Linked DNA regions of Homo sapiens: regions 1, 3, 4, 5, 6 and 7 are each linked to region 2. Evidence: promoter capture Hi-C in human tissues and cell types (Jung and others, 2019). All regions are on one chromosome and are shown on one strand. Each heading gives the region's core, a stretch centred on a gene start or on the middle of the fragment in contact. The rest is flanking DNA. Distances are from core to core; before and after follow the strand shown. Region 1 has its middle 44 kb from the start of LINC00589. Region 2 holds the start of DCTN6 (dynactin subunit 6). Region 3 has its middle 69 kb from the start of LINC00589. Region 4 overlaps LINC00589 (long intergenic non-protein coding RNA 589). Region 5 overlaps GTF2E2 (general transcription factor IIE subunit 2). Region 6 overlaps GTF2E2 (general transcription factor IIE subunit 2). Region 7 holds the start of SMIM18 (small integral membrane protein 18).

The links. The method cuts DNA at HindIII sites, captures the fragments that hold promoters and counts their contacts. A contact is called where the count stands out against the background at its distance.
Region 1: a contact is called between a fragment that was not itself captured here and the fragment with the promoter of DCTN6 in region 2, in 1 of the 25 tissues and cell types used here (thymus).
Region 3: a contact is called between a fragment that was not itself captured here and the fragment with the promoter of DCTN6 in region 2, in 2 of the 25 tissues and cell types used here (heart left ventricle and mesendoderm cells).
Region 4: a fragment that was not itself captured here is called in contact with the fragment with the promoter of DCTN6 in region 2 in 1 of the 25 tissues and cell types used here (lymphoblastoid cells).
Region 5: a fragment that was not itself captured here is called in contact with the fragment with the promoter of DCTN6 in region 2 in 2 of the 25 tissues and cell types used here (dorsolateral prefrontal cortex and mesenchymal stem cells).
Region 6: a fragment that was not itself captured here is called in contact with the fragment with the promoter of DCTN6 in region 2 in 2 of the 25 tissues and cell types used here (IMR-90 fibroblasts and hippocampus).
Region 7: the fragment with the promoter of SMIM18 here is called in contact with the fragment with the promoter of DCTN6 in region 2 in 1 of the 25 tissues and cell types used here (mesenchymal stem cells).

Annotation. Positions count from the first base shown.
Region 1 is chr8:29,702,583-29,705,282 of GRCh38, reverse strand. No RefSeq gene overlaps it. Among named protein-coding and RNA genes, the nearest start is that of LINC00589, 44 kb to the left of the region's middle. The HindIII fragment of the contact is 6,434 bases long and covers 1-2,700 here.
Region 2 is chr8:30,154,937-30,157,636 of GRCh38, reverse strand. DCTN6 (dynactin subunit 6) reads right to left here and starts at 1,268. Exons shown (of 7, transcript NM_006571.4): 1 at 1,231-1,268. The coding sequence starts at 1,253. DCTN6-DT (DCTN6 divergent transcript) reads left to right here and starts at 977. Exons shown (of 1, transcript NR_186490.1): 1 at 977-1,808. It overlaps LOC124901927 (a long non-coding RNA gene), which reads left to right. Exons shown (of 2, transcript XR_007060880.1): 2 at 1-465. RefSeq lists a silencer at 898-1,007 and enhancers at 1,068-1,217, 1,161-2,143, 1,968-2,177. The HindIII fragment of the contact is 3,226 bases long and covers 1-2,690 here.
Region 3 is chr8:29,677,305-29,680,004 of GRCh38, reverse strand. No RefSeq gene overlaps it. Among named protein-coding and RNA genes, the nearest start is that of LINC00589, 69 kb to the left of the region's middle. The HindIII fragment of the contact is 5,662 bases long and covers 1-2,700 here.
Region 4 is chr8:29,741,613-29,744,312 of GRCh38, reverse strand. The region is part of intron 1 of LINC00589 (long intergenic non-protein coding RNA 589); the gene reads left to right. Among named protein-coding and RNA genes, the nearest start is that of LINC00589, 5.1 kb to the left of the region's middle. The HindIII fragment of the contact is 3,368 bases long and covers 1-2,700 here.
Region 5 is chr8:30,577,469-30,580,168 of GRCh38, reverse strand. GTF2E2 (general transcription factor IIE subunit 2) reads left to right here. Exons shown (of 8, transcript NM_002095.6): 8 at 1,132-1,851. The coding sequence ends at 1,248. Among named protein-coding and RNA genes, the nearest start is that of SMIM18, 60 kb to the left of the region's middle. The HindIII fragment of the contact is 3,629 bases long and covers 1-2,700 here.
Region 6 is chr8:30,615,485-30,618,184 of GRCh38, reverse strand. All of the region lies in intron 3 of GTF2E2 (general transcription factor IIE subunit 2), which reads left to right. Among named protein-coding and RNA genes, the nearest start is that of SMIM18, 22 kb to the left of the region's middle. The HindIII fragment of the contact is 4,176 bases long and covers 1-2,700 here.
Region 7 is chr8:30,637,283-30,639,982 of GRCh38, reverse strand. It overlaps SMIM18 (small integral membrane protein 18), which reads right to left and starts at 1,403. Exons shown (of 3, transcript NM_001206847.2): 1 at 1,344-1,403. The region is part of intron 2 of GTF2E2 (general transcription factor IIE subunit 2); the gene reads left to right. The HindIII fragment of the contact is 2,719 bases long and covers 1,098-2,700 here.

The sequences.
Region 1 (2,700 bases), core at 132-2,631, 450 kb after region 2:
TACAGGCGTGAGCCACTGCGCCTGGCCCCTACCATCTTATTCCTGCAAAAATGGTCACAATTTAAAAATTAAAAAATGATAGCTATTGATGTGGATGTGATGAAAAGAGAACACTTTTACACTGCTGGTGGGAATGTAAACTAGTACAACCACTAAGGAAAACAATACGGAGAATCCTTAAATCCTACTACTAGGTATCTACCCAGAGGAAAATAAGTCATTATACGAAAAAGACAGCTGCACATGCATGTCTATAGCGCACGATTACCAATTGCAAAAATATGGAACCAACCAATGCACATCAACTAATAAGTGGATAAAGAAAATGTGGTATATGTACACCATGAAGTACTACTCAGCCATAAAACGGAATGAAATAATGGCCTTTGCAGCAACTTGGATGGAGCTAGAGGCCATTATTCTAAGTGAAGTAACTCAGGAATGGAAACCCAAATATTACATTTTCTTACTTACAAGTAGGAGCTAAGCCATGAGGATGCAAAGGCATAAGAATGTTGTAATGGACTTTGGGAACTCAGGGAGAAAAGTGGGAGGGGGGTGGGGGATAAAAGACTACACATTGGATATGGTGTACACTGCTCAGGTGATGGGTGCCCCCTTATCTTAGAAATCACTACTGAAGAACTTATCCATGTAACCAAAAACTACCTGCACCCTGAAAACTATTGAAATAAAAATGAATAAATAAAAATAAAAGAGGCCTGAGAGAGCTGCCTTGCCCTTTTGCCATGTGAGGACACATACAAGGCACCATCTGTGAGGAGTGGGTCCTCACCAGACACTGAATCTGCTAGTGCCTTGATCTTGGACTTCTCAGCCTCCAGAACTGTAAGCAATACATTTCTGTTCTTTATAAATTACCCAGTTTAAGGTATTTTGATATAGCAGCCTGAATAAACTAAGACAATTGGAGAATCTCAAATGTCAGAGTCTTTCAGTCTCTTTTTATGGGGTTAGTCAGCTTCCTTAGAGAAGCTCTTACAACTTGATATGGTTTGGGTCTGTGTCCCTGCCCAAATCTTATGTCAAACTGTAATCCCCCGTGTTGGAGGAGGGGCCTGGTGAGAGGTGACTTGATCATGGGAGCAGATTTCCCCCTTGCTTTTCTCATGATAGTGACTAAGTTCTCATGAGATCTGGTTGTTTAAAAGTGTGTAGCACCTCTCCCCTCTCTGTCTTCCACCTTCTCAAGCCATATGAAGTGTCAGCTTCCCCTTCACCTTCCACAATGAGTGAAGCTGAGCAGATGCTGCTATGCTTCCTTTACAGCCTGCAGAACCATGAGCCAATTAAGTGTCTTTTCTTTATAAACTACCCAGCATCAGTGTTTCTTTATAGTAATGCAAGAACAGATTAACACACAGCCTCATCCCTGGAGGTTAAGAGTCTCGGCAGGGGCTGTCAATTTTAGTATTTAAGCTTTGATTAATCTCCCTATTTTATTAAGTTACCCATGCCTTCACCTGTAGCTGATAACCCTAGTTCATAGGCTTCTTGTGACCTACCTCTTCACAGAATAAACAGCTGGTCTTCTGCCAGAGGTAGAGGACTTTTATTCACCTTTAGAGAATGAGAAATGATCTAAACGTCTAAGTGCCATATAAGTCCATTCTCGCACTGCTATAAAGAACTACGTGAGACTGGGTAATTTATGAAGAAAAGAGGTTTAATTGACTCATAGTTCCACAGGCTGTACAGGAGGCATGGCTGGGGAGACCTCAGGAAACTTAAAATCATGGTGGAAGGTGAAGGGGAAGCAAGCACATCTTCACATGGCCAGTGATTGAGAGAGAGAGAGAGAGCAAAGAGGGAAGTACTACACACTTTCAAACAACCAGACCTCATGAGAACTCACTCGCTATTACAAGAACAGCAAGGGGAAAGTCTGCCCCCATGATTCAATCACTTCCTACCAGGCTCCTCCTCCAACACATGGAGATTATGATTCAACATGAGATTTGGTTTTAGAAACAGAGCCAAACTATACCATTCTGCCTCTGGCCCCTCCCAAATCTCACATCCTTTTCACATTTCAAAACAAAATCATACCTTCCCAACAGTCCCCCAAAGTCTTAACTCATTCCAGCATTAACTCAAAAGTCCAAGTCTAAAGTCTCACCAGAGACAAGGCAAGTCCCTTCCATCTATGGGTCTGTAAAATCAAAGACAAGTTAGTTATTGCCAAGATACAAGGGGGGTACAGGTATTGGGTAAATGCTCTGGTTCCAAAAGGAAGAAATTGGCCAAAACAAAGGGACTACAGCCCTATGCAAGTCCAAAATACAGCAGGGCAGTCGTTAAACCTTAAAGCTTCAAAACCTCCTTTGACTCCATGTCTCACATCTGGGCCATGCTGATGCAAAGACTGAACCCTCAAGGCTTTGGGCAGCTCTTCCCCTGTGGCTTTGCAGGGTACATCCCCTGTGGCTGCTTTCATAAGCTGGCGGTGAGTGCATGCAACTTTTCCAGGTGCATGGTGCAAGGTGTTGGGTGGATCTACAATTCTGGGGTCTGGAGGACAGTGGCCCTCTTCTCAGAGCTCCAATAGGCACTGCCCCAGTGGGGACTCTGTGTGGGGGCTGCAGCCCCACATTTTCCCTCTGCACATTTTCCCTCTGTGCTGCCTTAGTAGAGGTTCTCCATGAGGGCTCTGCTCCTGCAGCAGACTTCTGCCTGGAT
Region 2 (2,700 bases), core at 19-2,518:
AAAGGAGCTTGTCCACTCCACGCCTGGCAAAAAATGTCACAGTTCTAAGCTTATACACTATTGGTGGGAATATAAATTAGTTCATCTATTGAAAATAGTATGGTGATTTCTCAAAGGACTAAACACAAGTACCATTGGACCCAGCAATCCATATAGAGCTACCAATCCAAACGGAACTACCATTCGACCCAGGATCTACTCAAAGGAAACCATTGTATTAAAAAGACAACTGCACTCCTATGACTATCACTGTACTATTCACAATAGCAAAGTATGGAATCAACCTAAGTGTTCATCAACGGATGACTGGATAAAGGAAATGTGGTGTATCTATACGATGGAATACTACAGAGCCATCAAAAAGAAAGGAAACATGTCTTTTGCAACAACATGGATGGAACTGGAGGCCATTACCTTACGCGATAACTCAGAAATAAAATCAAATGCACATGTTCTCACTTTTAAGTGGGAGCTAAAATGAGTACACATAAACATAAAGAGGGAAATAACAGACACTGGGGACTCTAAAAGCAGCGAGGGTAGGAGGGGTTTGAGGGCTGAAAAATTACCCATCTGATACAATGTTCACTATTTGGGTGGTAAGTACACTAGAAGCCAACTTCACCATTACGCAATTTATCTATGCAACAAATCTGCGCAAGTACTCCTTGCATCTATATAATGTGTGTGTGTGTGTGTCACAGTTCAAGTCCAGGCGCGGCCCCCCTTTTGACAGCGACCGTAAATCCCTTTACACACCCCACCCTCCAGAGACAGGAAGGGCCTGGGGTGCGGCCAGCACTGGCGTGGGGGTCTCGCAACATGCAGCAGAGAATCCAGCGCCAAGCCGTGGGGTACAGCGGCGCCAAGCACCGCCGATTATGCGGGAGAAGGGAGCCGGCCTTCCCCAGGAAAAAGCTGACGTCACCCTCCCCTCACAGCCCCCCCCGCCCTCCCGGCCGGGAGACCCCCTCTGCGCAGGCGCATGTGGGGAGGGACGGCCAGACAGGAACAAAAACCTTCCAGGCAGCGACTCCGCGTCCCTTCTCAACCCTCCCCGCCCCCACTCCGTCGCCCCCTCCCTCAGTGGACGCCAGGTCTGGGCTTCAGGTACCTTCGGCCCGAATGCCCAGGATGAGACACCTTCTGAGTCGCCACCATTGGCGACCAGGAACAGGTTCCACCCCTACGGAAAGCTGAGAAAAGGCTTTTCTCAAGCAGCAAACCCACCTCTTTTGAGTCTTCTCCGCCATGGTACGGCCCCAATTGGAACGTAGATCGACACCACCGCCTGGGTAGAGCGATAATTCCACATGCGATTGGAGAGCCTGGCAGGGTTGGGGGAGGGGCGGAGCCGGGGTGGGGCGGGGACCCGGAAGCTTGCGACTCTTGTTTGCGTCGCGTCTGGGCGCACAGGACTGTACTTTTGGTAGCGGTGCGGGGCCGCCCGCGGACTTTAGCCCTGCATAGAGATGGGTAGACCCTAATTTGGAACAGCCATTGACTGGGCACAGGCCAGCACTTTGGGAGGCCGAGAGGCCGAGGCAGGAGGATCGCTTGAGGCCAGGAGTGCCAGACTGCGAGACTAGCCTGGGTAACATAGTGAGACCCTCTCTTCAAAAAAAAAAAAAAAAAAAAAAAAAAAAAGCCTGTCACGGTGGCCTGCGCCTGTACCCCAGCTACTCGAGAGGATCGCCTGAGCCCAGTGAAGCTGCAGCGAGCTGTGAGGATGCCACCGCACTCCGGCCTGGGCTAAAAAGCTAGATCGTGTCTCTGATAAAAGAATAAAAGCTGTTTATTGCAATCCAGTCCGCGTCATTATGCCCTCATTTTACCCACTCGCGTAGGCGTAATTACACCCTAAAGGTATTTCTCTGACCTCGCCGATGTCCTTTTCAGCCTGTCTTTCTCTACTCATTAGGGCTCCTTCTGGCCCTTTTCTCGCTCTATATGAGTGCATCCTTCCTATAGGTTAAGTGCCCTCTACCTGTTTGCTCTCTAATGAATGTCTCTGGTTCTGCCCTCTGTGCCGATCTTCACACCTGACATTCGGTTGACTAATTGACATCTCCGCTCAGAGTCGTATCGAACCTAAAACTTACAGAACATGACTTTCGATTAACACTGCCGTCCTCCCTGCAACCTGCTGCTTTTTTGATCCACACCATTTGCCTAGCTGCTCAAGCCAGACACTCAAGAGTCACCCTGGCACTCCTCACCCCTACATCTGTAATAGATCTGCAAGTTCTGCTTGTCCTACCTCGGGTCTCATGCTTACACTTTTGTCTACCGGACCATCTCTCTAATCTCAGCCGATGTGTCTCTCCCAGTTGTTCACTCATTCTGTACTTGGCCTCTGAAATCACACCTCCTCATCTCCCACCCCCAACCCTGATCCAAGTAGTTCTCTTGTAGTCAAAATCATCCTTTAAAAGACAAATTGAGGCCAGGCGCGTGGCTCAAACCGGTAATCCCAGCACTTTGGGGGGCCGAGATGGGAGGATCGCTTGAGGCCAGGAGTTGGAGACCAGCCTGGTCAACACAGCATGATCCCGTCTCTATATATTTTTTCTATAATGTATTTTTTTAATGGAAAAAAATTAAAAATAAGAGCCAAATTCAGTTATTTCCCCTTCCTCTTAAAATCTAAAATCCAAACTGCTTTCCATAACCTATCTCTGAGCTACATCCAGCCCCTGC
Region 3 (2,700 bases), core at 33-2,532, 480 kb after region 2:
ACTGGGGGGTTGCTGATCCTAGGATCTCTCAGTGGACAGAGGTGGAGAGCACACACACACACACACACACTCTTGCATTTACATCTATATTTGTTTCTACGTCTATCTAAAAACAACTCTAATTTAACATTACTGGATCTATTCTAATTTTCTCTCTTTCCATGTTGGTAATTCCCTTCTTCAACAGTGAAGGCCTGGCTCCCATTGTCTTTAATATATTTATTTGACCCATCTCCCTCTATGTAGCCAATTTCCTGTGGTTGGGACCACAGCCAACCTACATTGTATGTGGGTTTCCTCCTCACCTTTCTCAGGCTTTTTCAGACACTCTGATCCAGACCACCCCACTGCTAGGAGAGTCTCCTGGTGGGGGACTCTATTACTTTGCATGAGGCTACCTTCTCACATGGCTGCCCTGCTGACACCCCATTGACTCCAGGGAAGGAAATGGAAGGCTGAGACAGGAGAAGACAAAGGAAAGAGAGAGGGAAGGATGGCGGTGGAGAGAAGAGAAAGGGAAAAGACATTCTTGCTTGGATCCCTACAGCATTCCTGTCTGATGGTTGAAGCTGGTACTATTCTCCTTGTCCAGGTGAGAAAATTGGTGTTGAAGGGTTAATGTCTTAACCGGAGCCTCACATGCAGAGGAGTGTAGAGCTGAGGACCACTCCTTGGTCTTTTGAGTCTAAGTCCAATTCTCTGACCTCAACACCATATTACCTATGTCCTGAAGGTCTCCCAGGGACATGTAGATATGCCAAGAAATGAAAATTACTATTTGAGTTAAAATGTGTCTGCAAGAAATGTAGTTGTAACAGTAAAAATGTGTTTTGGCTGCTGATGGTTTCGCTGTGTCCCCACCCAAATCTCATCTTGAATTATAGCTCCCATAATCTCCACATGTCATGGGAGAGACCCAGTGGGAGGTAATAGAATCATGAGGGCAGGCTTTTTCCATGCTGTTCTCATGATAGTGAATAAGTCTCACGAGACCTGATGGTTTTATAAAGGGCGGTTCCCCTACACATACTGTCTTGCCTGCCACCATGTAAGAGGCCTTTCCTACTCCTTTGCCTTCCACCATGATTGTGAGGCCTCCCCAGACATGTGGAACTGTGAGTCCATTAAAGCTCTTTTTCTTTATAAATTACCCAGTTTTGGGTATGTCTTTATTAGCAGTGTAAGAACCCACTAATGCAGCTTCTAATTCACAGAGATTCCTAATAGTCCCTGGAAGACCCCTGAAAAAAAAAAAAAGCACTAACTGTGTATCCTTGGGCGGTCAGCAGGGTGTAGACTCTCTCTCTCCAGCTCTTCCTTACTCTCTCCTTCAGAGAAAACAAGTTGAGCGCATCTTTTTTCCTCCCAGCAGAGGATCTTTCCTTAACATTTACCCCAGTCGGGACAACCTTTCAAGGTCTTTTCTGGAATATTCTGAGTTTGATCTCTGGGGACATAGAATGGCATTACTCAAAGGATGGTGGCAGCAGAAACATCTCCTGGGAACTTGTTAGAAATGCAAATTTTTTAGCTCAACCCAAGGCAACTGAAGCAGCATCTTTTGGGATGGAGCCCAGATCTTCCAGGTGATTCAAGTGCTCACCTGTTCTAGAGCTCTGGGCTGGGCTCTGAGATTCTACATTTCTACCAAGCTTCCAGTTGATGCTGATGCATAAGTCTGAGATCTACCAAATCAGAACCTGCATTTTAAGTACATCTAACAGTATTCAAATGTCCACTAAAGCACTGCTGTAAAATTCTCTCTTTTTAGTTGCATACATAGCCCTTGAGGCAAGTCAGAGACAAAATGCCTTCTGAGTTGTATTGCTTATTGACTGAAGTGAAATTAATAGGTATCTAAAGTAAATATCTTTTCCAAGTTGGTCCAATGTCATAAATTACTTTGGGATTAAAACTTTTTAAATGTCATACCCAATTGGGACCTTTGCATATGCTATTATCTCAACCTGGAATGATTTTTCTCTCCCTTCTTTTCCTAGATTTCCAAAAGACCTTGGCTCAGGTGTCACTTTTGCAGAAAAGCATTTACTGACTGTTGACTTGGCCAAATCCCTGTGCTGTGTTTCCTAGTACGGTGAGTTGCATTTTCACATGAACTCATGCCTACCTTCTCTTGTTTTATAAGCTTCATGAGGCAGGTACCATGTCTCATTTTTAAAAACTTTTATTTGGTGAACCACTTAGCACAATGCCTGGAAAGCAGTAGACTACTGATAAGCATCTGTTGAATGCAGGAGTGTGGTAGGCAGCTTCTAAGATAGCCCCTAGGGATCCCTTTCTCTTGGTATTCATGCCCTTGTATAAATCCCCTCATCTTGAATGTGGGTTGAATACTGTGACATTCATCTAATGAATAGAGTATGACAAAAGTAATGAACTACACTTTCAAGGCTAGGTTACAAAAAGTCTGTGCCTTCATTGTGCGTGCCTTCTCTTTCTCCCTTATTCAGCATTCTGAAGGAAGCCAGCTTCCATGTTGTGAACTTCCCTATAGAGAGGCCCACATGACAAGGAACTAATTGAGCTCATCAATAGACAGTGAGGAAATGAGGCCATCTAGCAATCATGTGAGTGAGCTTAAAAGGAGATCCTCCTTCAGTTGAGCCTTCAGATGAGACTCCAGCCTTGGCCAATACCTTCATTGCAGTCTTGGGAAAGACCCTGAGCTGTCTTTAGTGA
Region 4 (2,700 bases), core at 109-2,608, 410 kb after region 2:
GAGAAGCTGGGGGTGATGTGGAAGCTTAAAGGGGGAAAGAATAAGATTGCTTTATGCAGGGTTATTGTCCAGATTTATTTATGGCCCCTAAGTTAGACCCCCTCCACATGCTGTTGGCTGAGAACAAGAGGGCTGCTATTTAGCAGTAGGATGATTTTTTTAAAAAATATAAAATCCTTGAAATGATTACATATTCCCAAAATTCAACTTGTAACTGTTTTACAAAACCAGAAGACTGTTCCACAATGCCTGTATGTGTGGTCATTAACTACAGTGGTCTGGGGCATGGAGCAGGATGTGGACACACCACACACTCCTACTGAGATTACAGTCAGGAGCTAGGCATTGCTCTTCATTTTGAGTTTAAAATAAAAAAGAAGACAAGACTGACAAATGAAATATTAATATGGAGCACCCGCCAACAGGTTCATAAAAATTAAGTACTCCTTTTGCCTCTTGCCTCCTCTGCATAGTTTCTCTTTTTGGAATCGAACCAGCTCTCCTTGTCATTATCCAATCGATATGGCCAATGGCAATCCTGGGCACTTGGAAATGACATTTATGTGCTCTCCAGCAGCTGCCATCCATCTCTCGCTTTTCCTGGGAGAGCACAGTCCCTGAGATGACCGAGACTCAGGGCGTTTATCTCCACTTTGATACTATTTCTACTTCATCCTGTGCCTCTGTTGACAAAACAGTCAAGTAGACAGAGTCCTACTTGATCCAGCCTCATGAGAAAAAGACTTCATTCTGCTTCAAATGTCTTCAGGACACATGTGTCAACTATCTGAGGTCCTTGGAAGAGAATCTAAATTCAGGCATGGGATATATCATGGTGATCAAGTTAATCTGCCTAATTTCTCTTCTCCACATGTCAGCAGATAGTAACAGGATATAAGTAAGGAAGACACTTGAAGGTTTTTAAGAGGACAGCATGTGTTTCAGACATGATCTCTCAGCTGTGGCAGGGGAGAGGTGTTAGGTGGAGGATAAAGGACAAGGCTTGGGAAGGTACAGATGGAGATAGAGGGTCCTGAAACACACAATGTGAAGCCGGGCTGTTCCATTGCCCTTTTTACCCCTTCCCCGCTGGGGCACAGCTTCACAGGACAGGGCTTCCCATTTCCTGCTACAGTGCAATTCTGACACCAACTACCAGAGTTGGTGCAGACTTTCCTGGTTGGAAGCACAGACCCCCAAAAAACTCCCCACCCTTTAGACCCCAGCCACAAGCCCTGGGGTTTCCAGGCCACCCACACATGATTGAAATACAAGCCACATTATTGATCTCATCTGCAGCCTTCCCCACTCCCCCAACCCCTCTAAGCATATGATTGGCGTTTCTGGCCTGGATAGTCCCTATGCTGAAACTGTCAAGGGCATAGTCACCTCACCTCACCAGCATGAACTCAGGCCTGGCCTTAGGGGCCCAGCATGAGTACCAAAGACACTCCTATCGCTCAGAACACTCCAAGGGTTTAGAAATTCCCACCCAGGAGCCTAGTCAAAGACCAGCCACATTCTTTGTTGTAGAACGTCTGCCTTTCTCCTCTGGAACTGAGACTTAAAAACAGAGGCCAAGTCACATTTTGTTTTACAAACTTGCTTTACCATGGGATTTCTTTTAGCTCAAACTCCCCAAAGCATTTAAAATCTAATAATAACTTCACTGCATTCGTGTGCTTGCCGAGAGACCGTTCTGCACATGGAGAGCACGGTTCCAGTCCCGGCTTATGGTTTCTTGGCAGGGGGACATTGTGTGGGCTGCCTTAGGGTGTGTGGCCCTGGGAAAATATTTTTACAGGGTCTCATCTCTATACAGAAATTTGAGTTACCTTAAAATCTTGGTGTCAGCACCATTCTAGTGCCTCACACAATCTCATGAAAGGATACTCTGCCGACCGGCAGGCATAATCTCTTGATGGGACACCCTCTTGGGTCTGGGCCCAACTGAGGACCCTGGGACAACCCCATAGGTGCAGGTCTTTAAGCTCCTTGGGTAGCTGGTCACCCCAGGGAAATGGGGTAAATTGAGTATTGGAGACACATGAAGGCCAAGGCCCCTAGGGGTCCCACTGCCCTTTAGGGATGGGAGGGCCTAAGGCATGGAGCAGAGCAGCCCCACCCCCACAAGTCCCTTGAGTTTGCCAGGTTCTCAGGATGTTTCTGGATGTTGGACGAATGCCTTAATCTCTGTGTGTCTCTTTCCTCATCTGTAGAATGGAGGTTATAATAGCAATGACTCCTTAGGGTTAATGGAAAGATAGAACCGAAGTAGAGCCTGGCATAAAATAAGTGCTTTTTTAAGGTATTAATTCCGTTTCATGGTTTTTTTTTTTTTTTTTTTTTTTTTTTTTTTTTTTTTTTAAGTCTTGCTCTGTCACCAGGCTGGAGTGCAGTGGCACGATCTCGGCTCACTGCAACCTCCGCCTCCCGGGTTCAGTGATTCCTCTGCCTCAGCCTCCCGAGTAGCTGGGACTACAGGTGCACGCCACCATGTTTTATGGGGTTTTATAAAAAATTAAATGTTAACCTTTAATCCACCCAACTCTTTAAATAACTTCCTATTTGAATTCACATTTCACTGATGAGGAAATTGGGATTTTTAGAAAATTAAAGTAATTTGTCCAAGGTCACATATATATCTGGTAAGTGTCTGAGTCAGAGTTTGAGCCCAGTTAAGTCTGACTCTACTGCCTG
Region 5 (2,700 bases), core at 183-2,682, 420 kb before region 2:
GTCCGCAGCCCAGGTCACATCTGAGGTATTGCAGGCCTGCAGACCCGCCCTCGGTGCTGCTCCAGGCCTGTGAGTGCCTTTCTACACCCAGCTCCTCCCAAGCAGTCCTGCTCTTGAGGTATAGCCATATGGAACCTTCCAGGGCCTGTGTGTTCCCCACTCTCCCACTCTAAGCTGCTACAAGCCCTTCTCCCTATTCTTAAAGGGATGCTGTGCCTTGATCTGCACAACCTTTCAGACTTGAACGGGGCCCTCCCCTGCTCCGTGAGCCTCGCCGTCCTGGTGCCTGGTTCTGCCATAGTAACTTTCAGGTCCTCTAGGAACCAGATATTTTTGTCCGTATAGTCTCTAAATCCTGCTCACAGGGGATGTTAGTAATTAAATGATGACTTTTACATTGCCTTGCACCAGCAAATAAAATCTGTAGTCTAAGAACAAAGCCCGGGGGGATGATTCACCAGCACCCTTGTTAGCAGTGCTGTGCTCCTCCCCCCTTTCCTTATCCACCGTCATGCTTCATAGCTTGTCACCTGTGTCTTTCTGGGGTGTGGGGTGGGCATGTGTGTTTGGTGAATTTTTAGGACTCACCTAAAGGGAAGCTTTATTGTCAATCTCTTTCCACAAATGAGTGTAATTGCAGCCCTTCATGATTTCCTATTATTGTCTCATTTGTTAATTTTTTTCATCATGTGATGCTAATATTTCAAGTATATAGAAAAGAATAGAGAATATTACAGACCTTCATGTGCTCCTCCTTTCTCAGGATTTTGCCATATTTTCTTCAGATCTTTTTAAAATCGGTAATGGTGGATACGTTTTTAAACCTGATGACAGAGACAGAGCTGAAGGGCTTCATCGTCCCTTTTGTTTGACTTAGTGCCTAGAACCATTTTGGCAGGTTTTTGTGCCTGCTCCTTCATTCCCGATGGCATCTGCATCTCAGGGGAACAAAGGCCCGGGGTCTGGTCAGGGCGTGTGCTGTGCCCCATGTGTGCTGCTGGGTGGCAGAGCAGGAGAAGGGTCCGAACCTGGCATCCTCAGCCACTGGCATCTGGGCATGCTCAGAACATCCTGGCCACACCACCCCTCAGAGCAGCTGTTGTTTCTAATTGTTTTTACCTTTTCCTTTAGGCCCCTATTCAGAGAAGGAAAAAGCCTGCTTCACAGAAAAAGCGACGCTTTAAGACTCATAACGAACACTTGGCTGGAGTGCTGAAGGATTACTCTGACATTACTTCCAGCAAATAGGGAACAGTTTTGCCCTGGAACAGAGTTACAGATACACAATCAAGAGTGTTCTTGCTGATGCTCGGGGTCTGAAGACTGTCTTCCTATCTGCTTCTTGCGGCTGAGGAGAGGAGCAGTTCAGTTTACAAAACAAGTGCAAATTACCAAACTCAAAGCTTATTTGAGTAGAATGGGCTCATGGGCAATGTGATGTTCCCTGTTAACCTTCTGTTACTCCCTGGGAGAAAGGCGCTGAGCGTGGCATGCAGGTGTCTTTGCTGTGTTTTTCTCCACTTCTAAATGGTTCCTGGTTCCTTTCTTCCTCGTTTGTTACTTTAGAGCAAGTTTGCCCATAGTCTTGAATGCAATATTTGTTTATTCCAAAAGAACATATTTATAATAAAATCACTGTAGAAGGATTTTTAAGATGTTAGTGAATTCTGTTTCTTTTCATTCTCGGAAATGGCAGGAAGCAGCTCCAGTCTCTGATTTCCATGGGTCACGTGCTGGGGATGTGATGAAGCCTGCAGTCTGCACTGTGTTGCTGAGCACATGGATTTCACCACTGGAACACAGGTGTGCTGCTTGTTAGCAAGCAGAGCAATAAAGATGTGCTGGATGTCATTGTTAATGTTTTCTTTTAAAAAGAAGCGTCAGTGTCAGCCGGGCAAGCTGGCTCACGCCTGTAATCCCAGCACTTTGGGAGGCTGAGGCAGGTGGATCACGAGGTTAAAAGATCGAGACCATCCCGGCCAACATGGTGAAACCCTGTCTCTACTAAAAATATAAAAATTAGCTGGGCGTTGGGGCATGTGCCTGTACTCCTAGCTACTTGGGAGGCTGAGGCAGGAGAATCACTTGAACCCGGGAGGCGGAGGTTGCAGTGAGCTGAGATCGTGCCACTGCACTCCAGCCTGGTGACAGAACGAGACTCCGTCTTAAAAAAAAAAAAAAAGTATCAGTGTCCAGCTTCTTGGGTTTGGTAAATTCCAGGATGGCAAGCCTTTGTAGTGTCTCCTCGTCAACCTGAACGTCAGCTATACCATGCCTCCACCCTCATGTGGCCTGACCGGAGATGGTTCTGGTGGAGATGCCCTCTGTCACCGGCCCAGCTCATGAGAGCCATTACCAAATATGTGAGTGTTCTTTAGAGTGAGGGTGACTCACGGGAAATTCACATGGTTCTGCTTTCTACGGCAAAGTTTGCATTTTCCTCACCTGCACTGTTTATGTTCTGCTGTGGTCCTTTGTGCTGGTGGTCATGGTCCTCCCGTCACAGCATGGGATAGTAGTGGATTAGGAAACGAGGTGTTGGTTCTCAGAAAAGGCATGATGGAAACCCAGAGCAGGAAGTGCTTTGTGCAGACGACAAAGAACCTTTTTTTGCTTTTTCAGTTGTTTTCTCTTTTCTACTTACCTCTCATCCCTTTACAGTGTTATCTGTTTGCTTTACCTCTTTCTTACCTCCAAGCC
Region 6 (2,700 bases), core at 119-2,618, 460 kb before region 2:
GCTGGGATTACGGGCATGTGCCACCATGTTCGGCTAATTTTTTGTATTTTTAATAGAGACAGATTTCACTATGTTGGTCAGGCTGGTCTTGAACTCCTGGCCTCAAGATCCATCTGCCTCGGCCTCCCAAAGTGCTGGGATTACAGGCATGAGCCACTGTGCCCAGCCTAAGTAAAGCATAACTTTTAAATGGAAATTAAAGACAATTTTAATAAATGTTCTAAAGAATCATCACGAGGTACCCACTTTTGTGTCCCTGGGGTGTGTACACCCCACGTAGGAGACCACTGCTGTACTATAGCTGCCCGGCGTTTCCCCGTATTCTAGTTAATCATGTCGTCATTCAAGGTCTGTCCAGTTTTCTCTTTCATTTCTTCTGATTGAAGATGCCTTCCTGACAGATAGTTGTTTACCTAGCTTTTTTTTTTTTTTTGAGACAAGATCTGGTTCTGTCACCCAGGCTGGATGGAGTGCAGTGGCATGACCACAGCTCACTTGCAGCATCTGCCTCCTGGGCTCAAGCAGTCGTTACAGCCTGCCAAGGAACTGGGACTATAGGCGTGTGCCACCATACCTGATTAATTTTTGTATATATGCAATTTTTTGGTAGAGTCAGAGTTTTGCCATGTTGTCCAGGCTGGCCTCAATCTCCTGGGTTCAAGCAACCTGCCCACTTTGACCTTCCAATTTGCTGGGATTCAGGTGTGAGCCACTATGCCCGGCCATATCTAACTTTTGTAGCTTGTATGTTTAGCTTCTCCCCTCTATTGGGAGCTCTTCTGCTCTAAAGGCAGAAGTAGTTTGCATTTTATTGTGTGTCTCATTGCAGTACTCTCAGCACATAGTAGTTACCACTAAATATTTGAATGAATAAGTGAATGAATTAACAGCAAACGCTCAATGAATGGTTCTTTTGTGTGGTGTGTTAAGCTTATGTCTCTATCTGCTGTCTGTACCTTCTAGTTTGGCGAAGTGGCTATTTAGTTTTCCAGGGCCTGACTGAAGCCCAATGAGGTTCAGTAACCTGCTCAATGTGAGGGAACTTGGAGCTTGGGTTTTTTTTTCTTTTGAAGAGTTATTTTTGTTTTGGATAAATAACATATCTCTTTGTACAAAAAGTAAAGTTGTATAATAAGGTACAATGAAGGAGTCTTGTTCTCACCTGTCATCCTACTCATTTTCTCCCCTCTTGTGCTTTCTACAGGTAACCTCTTTTATTAGTTTCTTGTGATTTTTTTTCCAGTGGTTCTTTATGCAGAAACAAAGTTCAAATGTATACTTATTTCTACCCTTCCCTATATACAAGGGTTCATAGTGCATATGTTTTTTAACATACATACTTTTTTCTTATTTACTTTAAAAAACACTTTTTTTTTTAGAGCAGTTTTAGGTTCACAGCAAAATTGATTGGAAAATACAGAATTCTCATCCATTCCCTGCCCATCCCCCCACAGCTTCCTCCACTATCAACATCCTGCACCAGAAGAGTACATTTGTGACAGTCAATGAACCTACGTTGACAAATTACCACTCAAAGTCCATAGTTTACATGAGTTCACCCTTAGTGGTGTTCTTTCTGTGGGTTTGGACAAGTGTATAATGACCTATGTCCACCACTCTAGTATCCTCCTGAGTATTTTCACTGCCCTAAAAATTCTCAGGGCTCTGCTTGTTCATCCTCTCCCCTCAACCCTTGGCAGCCACTAAACTTTTTTTAATTTTTAATTTTTAAAATTATTTATTTATTTTTAAAACAGAGTCTTGCTCTGTTGCCAGGCTGGAATGCAATGGCTTGATCTTGGCTCACTGCAACCTCCGCCTCCCAGGTTCAAGTGATTCCCCTGCCTCAGCCTCCCGAGTAGCTGAGACTACAGGCACCCGCTACCACGCCTGGCTAATTTTTTGTATTTTAGTAGAGATGGGATTTCACCATGTTGGCCAGGATGGTCTCGATCTCCTTACCTTGTGGCCTGCTTCGTTTTCCCAAAGTGCTGGGATTACAGGTGTGAACCACTGCATCTGGCCTGCAGCCACTAAACTTTTTATTGTCTCCATGGTTTTTGCCTTTTCCGGAATGTCAACAGTTGGAGCCATACAGTATGTATCCTTTTCAGATTGGCTTCTTTCCCTTAGTAATATGTATTTAAGGTTTCTCCATGTTTTTTTCATAGCTTGATAGCTCATTTCGTTTTAGCACTGGATAGTATTCCATCGTCTGGATATACCACGGTTTATTTACCCACTCACCTACTGAAGGACATCTTGGTTGCTTCCAGCTTTTGGCAATTATGGATAAAGCTGTAATAAGCATCCTTAGTGGATTTTTGTATGTACATAATTTTTTGGCTCATTTGGGTAAATACCAAGGATCGTGATTGCTAGATTGATCAAATGGTAAGAGTGTGTTTAGTGTTGTAAGAAACTGCTGAACTGTCTTCCACAGTAGCTGTACCATTTAGCATACTCACCAGTAATGAATGACAGCTCCTGTTCCTTTGCATCCTCTCTAGCTTTTGGTATCTACGTGTGTGTGTGTGTTTTCTTTGGATAGGCATGATACATATGTTTTTTAACTTATTAATTTGTCTTGGACATCTTTTCAAATTAGCACATAGAGAACTTTTACATTTACTTTGTGAACATCTGTGTAGTGGAATGGATGTGCTGTAGTTAATCTGTCTTCTAATATGGACGCTTGGG
Region 7 (2,700 bases), core at 154-2,653, 480 kb before region 2:
AAAGTTATTTTTATTTTATCTGAGACTTTTGTTTGGTGCTTCTGTACTTTCTGTAGCAAGCACAAATGGTTTCTAGATAATTAACCCCACTGTGCTGAACCTGGACAGATCTAGTATCTTATTACAGCAACCTTTGGGTTTTGCAGGGGATACTTTGCTCAGGCTAGCTGAATGCCGACTAAGAAAAGGAATAGAAATTATGAAGAAAAAAAAAACAAAAACCCTTTAAAGATTAAATAAACTTACCAGCAAGGTAAAAGGACAGAAGCTGGCTCTTTAGGTCCGATATAGTATATAGATGGAGTTCTAACATCTAGTAAATAACTAAATTTTCATGCTTGAATAGTATAAAATTAGAAATTTGGTCAGCAGTTAATATTAATTTTTAATAGACATGAATGATTGCTCTGAGCCACGAAGATAATCTTGTTACCTAGAAAGGTACTTACTCTCCTTTCTTAACCAGTTCTTCTTAGGACATATTTTTATTTTAAAATGCAGTTTATCAAAAGGACTTACTTTGTATTTATTTTGAGGATCAGTTTAAGAATGACTTCAACATTATATTTAAATGGTGTGATAAATTGATATCAAAAATGAAAGGCTATTTAAGAAGGTTTTTGTTTAATAGCATGACTTTATATTACGAGAGAGAAATTTCACAGTGAAGAAATACTTTAATTAAATGTTAAGGAAGTCTGAAGCTGTATAAATTATCTGTTCAGTGTAGTATAATGCAGCCCATATAGTGATACCTTTTATGATCTTTTATATAAAAATTAAAATTGTGATAATTTCTTGGCATTCTCTGCATCTACATTCAAAGCAAAATAAAAATAATTTTGAACTATTTTCTCATATTCTAAAAAATATAACAAACTTTCTTATAAGTAACTATTTTTTAGCAGCCAATATCATTTGCACATAGAATCAGAAAGCTTTAGTCTGGAATTCGCTTTTGATCTGGGTTTTTCTTTAAGAAAAATCCTTTGTTAAGACAGACCAAACTGCAGAAATGAAATCGCTCAGAGAAAATGAAATTAGCAAGTAACCAGTTAAAATAAAAAGCTATGGTTTACTCTGAGGTCTGGATATAGATCAGGTTCATGTAAAATGTAATGAATTTTCCATTAAGGCACAGATGGTAAGGGTGCTTATCAAATAGCACAAGGCAGTCTTCATATTTTCATAATAAAATCCTACCAAGCGGTGAAACGAATACATTGCTTTTTCTTGATATTTAGTAGGAGCAAAGCTTTCTGGTTGATTTTTCAGGGTAAAATATTTTCCTATTGCATCATAAGGACATGTACCACTAAATAAAAAAGATCATATAAACCTACCTCTTGTCTGAGAGGATGCTGCTGAAGCGATGGTATCGTCTGTTTGTAATGCAGTCTAGTGCACAGCCAAGATGGAGCTGTGCTTCTATTGGTTGAACCACAATGGAGCTGACAGTTTCCTCTATGTTCATTTGCATTAAGTCTTGCCACCCTTAAGAGTAAATCATTCATAAACTTGAATAGAGCTGTCTGGGGTATCAACTGTCATCCCTTCTCCTTTATTTTTTTGTTCTTAAGCTAAATTCCTATATAGGAATTTGTGAGTTACTAACAAATTGATGATTCTTTAGTGTTTCATTATAAAATTTCAGATCCTTCAGTGAATACTTCAGTGCTAGGGCTGGAAGATAATGTCGGGAAAGGTAGTAACCTAGGAAACAAACAGTCCAGGTTTGCCAGCCTGATATTTCCTTCAGGAAGTGTGCATAAAATCTTATAAATTTTTCTTGTTCTTCCTTTTCTTTCATTACTTGTTCCGTATATAATTTTTGCACTCTGGAAGTGATTATTTCCATGTGGTGGTTTGATTTAGGAGGAATTATGAAGGAAAATAATTGGCTTTTAGCTCTGCAAGTTGGAAGAGGGCTCATTTAGGTAAATACACTACCTGCATTCAAAAAATAGTCTCTAAAATGTAAATGGCAAAGTGATCTCCAGGTTGGCTCTTTAGAGACAGAGTATTTTTAGTTACTGTGTATTATTTAGAGTTATGGTCTAAGCACAACAGAATGAAGGTTTTTAATTATGGGAGTGGCTGTTAACAACAGCAGCAGACCAGGTACATGCTATGTAGACTTCTTTTTTAAAATTATAGATGAAGGCTGGGAGCGGTGGCCCATGCCTGTAATCCCAGCACTTTGAGAGGCTGAGTTGGGTGGATCACAGGGTCAGGAGTTCAAGACCAGCCTGGCCAAGATGGTGAAACCCCATCTCTACTAAAGTACAAAAATTAGCCAGGCACGGTGGCAGTCTCCTGTAATCCCAGCTATTCAGGAGGTTGAGGCAGGAGAATTGCTTGAACCCGAATGGCAGAGGTTGCAGTGAGTTGAGATCACACCACTGCTCTCCAGCCTGGGCGACAGAGTGAGACTCCATCTCAAATAAAATAAAATAAAATAAATAAAATAAAATTATAGATGAATTGGTACATTAGTTTCTGGGGCCATAAAGGAATGCATAGAAATATCTGTATTATAGTCATTCATTCAACAAATATTTATTGAGTGTTTACTAAGCTTGACATTGAGTTAGTAGTAGATGCCAGAGACATAAGCATCATGTCTCATAAGCACAACTGTTTGTGATTCATAATTGGCCATTTGTGTGGTGTTTGTCCTTAACACATTGTCATCTCTTT